3 separate regions of the Homo sapiens genome follow, and regions 1 and 3 are each linked to region 2. Evidence: promoter capture Hi-C in 16 types of primary human blood cells and fetal thymus (Javierre and others, 2016). All regions are on one chromosome and are shown on one strand. The core of a region is centred on a gene start or on the middle of the fragment in contact, and the rest is flanking DNA. Distances in the headings are between cores, read along the strand shown.

Region 1 (2,790 bases), core at 189-2,688, 1.4 Mb before region 2:
AGGCATTGTGAGGAATAAAAATTAAGGGTAAAATGCCTGGAATATGCCATGTGTATAGTGTGTGTTCAATAACTACCAGCTATTTCTGTTAATTCTACAGCTAGAATGGAATAATGTTCCATTCATAGAGTAATTAATGCCCTGAGCCTGGGAAGATCCACTCCTCATATGCTGTTTTGTTTCTGCAGCCCTAAGATTCAGGGCAATGGATGTAAGCCACACGGGAGATTTCGGCTCCATCTCAGGGAGACCCCACACCCCACTGTTCCTTAGGGGTTGGTGGGAGCCACTGAGGGGGGTGCCTATGGCAGCGAGGGCTGGGTTGGGGGCACAGGAAAGCTGCCGAATGGATATTGAGGGGAGGTGGTAGTAGCCGCCCTCTAAGGAGGATGTGGCCCTGGGCAGCCGGTGCCGCATAATGGCAGGGACAGGCTCACGCTACCACTCCGGAGAGCAGTAGCGCTTCCTCTTTGTCTTCGAGAGCCGGTTGCAGCTGGGGCTCTTCTAGGGAGCGTTCCCATCAACTGCTGCAGCGGGCATTTTGCTGGTCGGCACAGTATCGTATCGGAATCTGATTTCTTCGGGTCTGGGAGACGGACTCCGTTTGCGGGGGTTCATGGGAAAGGACTGCAGCGCGTTTGTCGGTCATTAAGCACGTTTTTGAGATCGACTCTGCAGATATGAACTTGCACTTTCAGCGCATTCATCAAAGCCTCGGGAGAGCTGACCCAGTCCCTACCCCCAGTCTCCCGAGCCCGCGGCGCTTCGGCTCCGGGACGCCCCCATCCTCCCCTGTCGCCCACCCGGGCGCCCCCGGCCTCGTTTTCTCGAGACGTGTCACTGCTTGTTGACCGCAGCCAGTCACGAAAACGGTCCTTTTCTTCAGTCTCCGGCCAGGGTTTCACTCCTGCAGGGAACAGCGGGTGGGGACAGAGTGCGGGGCTCCGTGCTGGACGGTGTCTGGAGGGGCCCCAAGGGAACAACCCTTCACCGGGAGAACACCAAGGCCAGAAGGGGAAGAGCCCTTCTCAAGGTCACCCGGGAGGAAATCGGCGCCCACCGGCGCTGCCGCCTCCCGCTCCCCGGCACTGGTGACTCACTGCTCCAGGTCCGCGGGGCCACCTCCGAGACTTCGGTCTCGAGGACCGAGGTGGGACAGGGTCTGCGGACCGCGCGCTGCCGCTGGACCCAGCCCAACCCAACCCAGGCCTCCCCACCCACCGGGTGCCCGCAGGCCACGCCCCTCGCCCGGAGCCCCGCCTCCAGAACGCGGCCCCGCCCCCGATACTGCAGCCTCGCCCCGCCCCCCGGCCTAACCCCAGCCCAGGCGCCCTCAGGCGCCGGCTCTCTAGCGCGCCCGACCTCCATCTTCCCGGGGCCGCGCCGCGCGCGCGCGCGGGCTTTGGGCGGGACCCTGCAGAGGCGGCGGGGCTCCTCCTCCCGCTCCTCCTCGGCCTCCCCTTCGGGCGCTCTCGCGCTAACTGTGCTCCTCCGGGGCCCTCCGCCTGCTCCCAGCCATGGTGGCCTGGCGCTCGGCGTTCCTTGTCTGCCTCGCTTTCTCCTTGGCCACCCTGGTCCAGCGAGGTAAGGCGGGCGGGGGGCGCGCGGGGACCGCGCGGGGACCCCGCCTTGTGGGCCCAGGGGTCGCTCTGCGCATGAGCGGCACGGTCCCCGCCTCTCGGGCCTGCGGTGGCTGCCACCGGCCGGCCCGGCTGTGCGAGGCGGAGCGGCGGGGGTCCGAGCCCCGGGCCCGTGGGGGTTGACTCCGCCGCGGTCGGAGTAGCCGGAGAGGAGGGGTGGGTCCCCTCCTGACGCTGGGCTGGAAACAGCGGGATGGGCCCCCTAAAATCCTGAACGAGCAGGTGTACCACTGGTGACAACAGCTGTCCCCAAGAGTTTACCTTTGAGAAAACCTTGAAGAGAGCAGTCATTTTCGAAATTTGCTGCGAGGCCACCGACAGCAGAAGCACCTGGGGAACTTCCTAGGTGGATTCCTAGCCCCTTTCATCGGGATCACAGCGGGCATGGGCTGTGGGGGGGGGGGGGGGGGGTCAGCGAGGCGTAGGTCTAACCAGCTCTCTAGGTGCTTCTGCCGTCCGCTTCAGTTTTTGAGACTTTGGTCATGTTTTGCCAAGGAGCAGGAGAGAGAAATCCCGCTGAATCAAGGAAGCACGTTTCTTAGACCCTCTGCTACTCAAAATGTGGTCCAGGGCCCAGCCGCATAGGCATCACCTGGGAGCTTGTAAGAACTGCAGCATCTCACGCCCCGCCCCCGACCTACTGAGTCTGATTCTGCATTTCAACTAGATCCGCGGGTGATTCTCTGGCACATTCAAGTTTGAGAAGCATCTTAGTAGAATAAATGCAGTCTGTGGTTAAAAATAGGGTCTTAAACATGTACCAACAGAATCTTCTTACACTTATTTATATCCTATGTCCCCATCAGAAAAAGGGATTAAGGGAAACACTGTAATTGAACGTGAATTATGCTCCAAGCTTCCTGACAATAGAAGCGAACCCAGCTGGTGGAAAATATGTGAGCTCAGGAAACACACACACACACACACACACACACACACTTTGTCCTAGTACTGAGTTCTAGTAAGATTTATGTCACATAAAGGAACACTGGAAAACAGTGGATGGTACTAGCCAAGCCACTTTTGCAAAAGATGCAGAAATGTTTTTCATGTGGGCAACCCACCTGGAGTTGATTCACGAAGAGCCATTTAACATTCTGCAGAGGTGCCAGGCTCTGTTCTAGGAACTGATGATGCGGTAGTGAACAAA
Region 2 (3,044 bases), core at 438-2,937:
GTCCTCTGGCTTTTACTTCAGAAGGGACACTCCTGCCTTGCTGGCAAGAGGGGATGGGCTTTGCCTTGAATTCCAGCTGTGGGCTCCGCTTTGCAAGATATCTGCTTGTCAGAACCTGAGACTGCAGGTGTGCAGGGTCTGGTCTATATGACCACGGGACAGGTCCCAGGTATATGACTGACAGGCCTGAGGGACCAGAAGCCCTTCTCCTTACCCAAGCCCAGATGGAGAAAACTTCAACTGTGAGAGCCCTCCTTTATTCCCAAACGGCCATCATTGTTTCCCTTCCCTGTGGCTTTTTATAAAGAAATCTGGGGGAGTAAGAATAAATCGTTTCTAGATCAAAGAGAAACAGCGAAAACCAGGAGAAAAGGCGGTAGCCAATGTACCCACTCCATTCAGATGAATGCAGTCCAAACAGAAAGACAGCCAGTCATACATCACTCAGTGACAGTGCAATGCAATACTTCCAAAGATCTGATTAGGCACTTCTGTTTTTCTTATTTTAAGCTTATGCTTTACAAAGTAAGTTGTTGTTTTTCGTTTTGTTTTGTTTTAAACGAATCGCCTTTAAAGTAGTGGGGGCAAAACACCAGAGCTTAGGCAACCCCTGGTGGAGGCTTTTATAATTCCTCTACTTTTTGGCTTTGACAGCATGAGGGTTGCCTGCTCTAAGCCCTGCCTATCCATCCACCCAGAACTGAAGTGGCTGAATCATTGCCTGGCATGACAGGAAAGTCTTGGGCTTGAGGGGAGAAAAAAAAAGAAAAGAAGAGAGGGAAGACGGTGGGACGAGAACTGGAAAGAAGAGGAAGGAAGGGAAAGATTGTTCAGAGGACGATGCAAGATGTCCACAGGCAAACGGGACTGAGACTAACCTCTTCCATTGTGAGAGAATATCTCAGCTCCTAAAGTTTTTGATATAGTATGTGATGCAGGGTAGGAGCCCAGCAAATGTCAGGGCTTCTGTGATGCCCAGCCCCTTGGCTGCCCCCTCATGCTCCATGCGGCTTCACTTCTTCCTGGGAAGTAAAACAGAATCAGATTCTGGCTGTGTTGCCATTCACTTTCACTCCTCTGGAACCCCAGGGAGCCTAGGGCTGCTACTGCTGCACCTTAGTCCTCAGGGTAGCACAGACCTGGCTACGGAACTAGATGCCTATGGATGACCATCTATACTCTCCAGAGTTCAGATTGAGAGCAGAGTTCTAGCACGTTGCCTCACGCACCTTGAGATAGTCTCTTCTGGGAACAGTGCCCTCCGTGCCCAGCGCATTTGGGTAACATTCACAGCCCACGTTAGACTCCTCCTTGGAACACCATTTCACGTGCCTACAGAGCCCAGGGCCCTCCCTATGACTCTGCAGGGGAGAGAGCCCTCACTGGCATTGGGCTGAGGACAGCCTGGGACACTCCCTTTCCTCATCCAGGTAGTTCTCATCATGGTTCTCATCCCGAGCCCTTGAAACCCCACGAAGGTACTAGCCCCTGGGATACAGTAGTAAATGGACAGGGCAGAGCCTGCCCTTGAGGGGTGCCCATCCAAGGATCCCTGGATCTGGAATGAGAGACAAATCTTGAATTCTCCCCTGAATCCTCATCCTACCATTGTGTGGGACTATATACCAATTTGCCAGTGTGCATTGTCCCCTCCTCCTGGAGTTAGGCTCAAAGGCGGGGGTAGGGTAGAAGTCCAAGAGCAAGGGGACTCCCTTTGCTGTATGGTACCCTAGAAGGTCCAGAGTCCTAGAACTCCTCTCACACCAAATCCACATATCTTAGCTGCAGAAGTGTCTGGAGCAGTCCCCTGAGCTTCCTGTGACACTAAAGTGGCATGGGAAAGCAGTTGAATTTTCCCGTGCCTCCAAGGAGGTAAGAGAGGGAGGGAGAGAGAAAGAGGGAAAGAGAAAGAGGGAGAGAGGGAGAGGGAGAGGGGGAGAGAGAGAGCGAGAGGGAGAGCACGTCTCCAAAAAATGTCACATAGAAAATGGCATGGACTGTGCAGCTAGGAACCAGGTTAGAATGACGACACCACATTGGAAGACAGCATGAAGGTATGCCATCTCTGAGCGCTGGATGGGATTGTACATTGGGAGTGGATGCTGGCATGGACAGGTTGCCATTGACAACAAGCAGATTCTCTTCTCTCTTGCTCTCTCTCTCCGAATTTAAGAGTCTCACAGAATTTAGGTGATAGGCTGGGGCAAAGGAGACAATCCTAAATTGCTTGATAACAATAATTGGTAATTAGTAAGACAATCCCGAAGTAACTGGGAAAATGTGGAATTGACTAGATTAAATTTTCTGTTATCTGTTGGAGTTGAGACTCAAGATAGGGCTCTTTTGTGGTAGATGCCATTCTAGATGGCCCCCAAGTTTCCTGCCTCCTAGTGTATGTGACCCCTTGTGTATGGGTAGAATGTACTACAATCAGCCTCCTTATCCATGTGTTCCACATCTGTGGATTCAACCACCTGTTGAATTTGAAAAAGATGGGTGGTTGTCTCTGCAGTGAACATGTACAGACTTTTTTCCCTTGTCATTATTTCATAAATAATGCAGTATAATAACTATTTACATGGCACTTACATTGTATTAGGGATTATAAGTAATCTAGAGGTAATGTAAAGTATACGGGAGGATGTGTATGTATGTTATATGTAAACACTGCACCATCTTATATAAAGGACTTGAGCACCTGTGGATTGTGCTATCCACAATCCCGAGCTTTAAGTGAGAATGTAGTCCTTCACTGCAGCCTTTTGAGACCCTGAACCTAAGACCCAGCTTAGCTGTGCCTGGATTTCTGACCCACAGAAAGTAGGAGGTGACAAATGAGTAGTGTTTACAGCCACTAAGCTTGTGGTCATTTGTTACATAGCATTGATTGGCCCTTATCCCTCATTCACTGAAGACTCAGGTACCAGGCTCACAGGTGACCTTGGTACCCTGTGTCCTGTCATCATTCTGGGGGACTGCAGTGTATTCATCAGCAGCCTGTGCCACTCACAGACCCTTGACTTCTTCCTCATCTCTAACCTCTA
Region 3 (2,922 bases), core at 67-2,566, 1.2 Mb before region 2:
GTCTTAGCTGTGACTGGTTTTCAGTGACACTAACCACTTGGGTGATTAATTTATTAAAATATATTGTAATTACACTGAGGTAGAAACAAAAGTGAAGGGAATGTTTCTTGTTTCTGTGCTTTTGGAAACTCCCAAAAGTTTGGCACAATGGGATGACCAAGACAGGCAGGAATGGGCATGTAAAACTGACTGAGCTACATTCCAACAGTGCATGCTGCCTGAGTGCACTCTGGTGTCAGGGAAATGGCCAAGTTGTGGGAAAACTGGATGTTCCGGGTTACACGATAGGCCATCTCTTGTCGTCGGAGGAGGCGGTGGCCCCTCCCAGTTCGACACGGTCACTTTATGTTTCTAACTGATTTCTCTTAGTTCTGCAGCTGCCTCAGAAGCAGTAGGCTTGCTTGTGTGTTCATGAAAACAATAAACTGGTTCCCTCAAAGTGTGAAGAACTGAAAGTAAATGGTTCTGTTTTCTTGCCTCCTGAGCAGTTTGGACGTTTTCCATCTCAGATTTTTGCCTCGATCTGCACCAGCTCCCACGCCCGCGGGGTCCCATCTCCCCGTCCTCACTCCCAACCCCCCATCAAAGACCCTAAGCAGCCACAGCAGAATTGGGGTCTTAAAACCACACGAGGCAAGGTGATGCTAGAAGAGGAGAGCCCGGGTGGGATCTCCCTCCCAAGAGGATTGGTGGCCTGGGCAGGGACAGCCAAGCGATCGCCAAGGGCAGCAGGTGGCGGCGCCGGAAGTGGTTTGACAGCTGCGAAGCCCCTCCCGGGGTTCCAGGAGCTGGGGCTCTCGGGGCGGAAGTGAGCCAGGTGCGCGGCCCGCAGCAGGTCCGAGGGCAGCAGTCCCCGGATGGGGCGCTGAGGTTTCCGGGGGTGGGGGGGAGGAGGGCCCAGAGGGGATGAAGAGGGGCCGCCCACCCCGCCACCGCCAGGCCCTGCGCAGCGCGCGGGGAGGGGGCGGGCTGGCCTCGCGCGGGGCCCTCGGGAGTCGGGGCGCGGGAGGCCGGGGCAGCCCGGGCCCCGCTTACCTGTCCAGGGTCTCCACGCTGGGCTGCCGGGAGCCGGCGGTGGCGCCCCCCGCGGCCCGAGGAGGCCTCCTGCCGCCCGCCGGCCCCGGGTTCGGGCCCCCGCCGCCCTCGCAGCCCGCCGCCGCCGCCGCCGCCGGCCTGTCCATGGCGCGCCGAGTCCTGCCGCCTTGGGGAAGCCGCCGTCGGGACGGGAGCGGCGGCCGGGAAGGTTTCGCTGCTTGCCTCCTGCCGCCCGCTCTATACCGCCCGCCCGCCTCAGGCGGCCGCCGCCATTAGCTGTCACCTGGCGGCCCCGCGTTACCCACAAGGCCGCGCGCGCGGGGGTCGGGGGGCGGGAGCGGGGGCGGGGAGGGCGGCGCGCGGGGCCGGCGCCGGGAACCCCCACCTCGCCCAGCCCCACCTGGGCGCTCGCCCACGGAGCCTTACAGCGGGGATCTGGGACCTCCTGCTCCAGCGACCTGGGTGCGTACAGAGCCACTGGGGTTCGGAATCCCCAAACGGATTATGCGTAGCGTGCTTCACTCTATAGTCACACCGGGTTGACTGCAGAGACGTGGGGTGTAAAAAGAAGTTTGAAGACATTCAAGTATCAAAAATGATTTCCCACCTCAGTTGTCCTTCCCGGAAAAGGTATAGAACAGCTCAAGCTCCCTCGGTCTTGACATCTTGAAGCAGGAGCAATTCCGTGCATTTTAGCAATTCCTCCCCACCCCATTCTTCCCTCCACTCTCCCCCTCCATACGCACCCCGCCGCCCCGCCACAAACCCACCCCCTTGCCATCTGTAGGGCAACCAAGTGTTCTGATGCCGCCCTCGGAGCTTCCGCCCATGGTTTATGTTAAGAGTAACATTTAACTTCTGTTGATTAAAAAATCACTGCTATGAACATCAAGCCAATATCTTGGTGAGGCATTTAGGACATTTGCTTTCTGGGCTAGATTTATTTCCTTGCTCATTTTGTTTGGGTTCGAATATCCAACAGCTCATCCCCTCTCACCTCACCCCTGATTAAGTTGGGAGTGGGTGTGTGGCTCGTGATTAAGCCTCTTTGCCTGTGATTGCTCTGGGTGTAGACAGGAGGCCTGCGACCCAGGTCTGGAAAAGAAGATATAAAGGGAACAATTTGCTCACTGTTAAAAGGCAGATCTGCAGACAGGGAGTTACTCATGCCCATCCCAGACCCATCCTGCCCCACCAGCTTAATAACTTCAAACTGAACTTTGAGGATATGATGCCTGAAGCCCCGACAGCCATCTTACGCACAAGAGGAGGTGAGCCTGGGGTAAGAAGATGACAGAGTGAGGAGGGCTAGGAGGAAGGAAAGGAAGATCCCCAGACAATAATAGCTCCTATCTCACACTGGAGAATCACCGACTGCAGGTTGCTGGCTTTCTAAAATTATTAAATCAAATGGTTAACCCACTGTTATGGACTGAATGTTTTCATCCCCCTGAAGTCCATATGTTGAAGCCCTAATTCCCTGTGTGATGGTATTTGGAGATGGGGTCTTTGAGAGGCAATTAGGTCATGAGGGCCAAGCTCTAGTCTGATGGAACTGGTGCTTTTTAAGAAGGGTCACCAGAGAGCTTGATCTCATGCACTCACATGCACACACTGAGAAAAGGCCGTGTGAGTACACAGCAAGAAGGTGGCCATCTGCAAGCCAGGAACAGAGCCCTTACTAGGTCCCTGCTGGACACTTAATCTTGGACTTTCCAGCCTCCAGAGTTGTGAGAAAATTTCTGTTGTTTAAGCCACCCAGTCTATGGTATTTTGTTTTGGCAGCCTAAGCACACTAAGACACCCACTTTTAGTTGGGTATTTTGTTACAAGTAGCTGCAAGCATCTTAGCTGTGCTGAGAATTGTCAGAAAGAAAACAGTGCAAC

What was found. The method cuts DNA at HindIII sites, captures the fragments that hold promoters and counts their contacts. A CHiCAGO score of 5 or more calls a contact.
Region 1: the fragment with the promoter of CD99L2 here is called in contact with a fragment that was not itself captured in region 2 in 1 of 17 cell types (activated CD4 T cells); the score reaches 6.2 in activated CD4 T cells.
Region 3: a contact is called between the fragment with the promoter of MTMR1 here and a fragment that was not itself captured in region 2, in 1 of 17 cell types (non-activated CD4 T cells). The highest score is 5.7, in non-activated CD4 T cells.

What each region holds. Positions count from the first base shown.
Region 1 is chrX:150,897,316-150,900,105 of GRCh38, reverse strand. It overlaps CD99L2 (CD99 molecule like 2), which reads left to right and starts at 1,438. Exons shown (of 11, transcript NM_031462.4): 1 at 1,438-1,584. The coding sequence starts at 1,518. RefSeq lists a silencer at 1,154-1,763. The HindIII fragment of the contact is 7,642 bases long and covers 1-2,498 here.
Region 2 is chrX:149,508,109-149,511,152 of GRCh38, reverse strand. No RefSeq gene overlaps it. Among named protein-coding and RNA genes, the nearest start is that of IDS, 4.3 kb to the right of the region's middle. RefSeq lists an enhancer at 1-720. The HindIII fragment of the contact is 2,349 bases long and covers 513-2,861 here.
Region 3 is chrX:150,691,790-150,694,711 of GRCh38, reverse strand. MTMR1 (myotubularin related protein 1) reads right to left here and starts at 1,316. Exons shown (of 16, transcript NM_001306144.3): 1 at 1,036-1,316. The coding sequence starts at 1,181. RefSeq lists silencers at 866-1,005, 1,316-1,385. The HindIII fragment of the contact is 7,697 bases long and covers 1-2,922 here.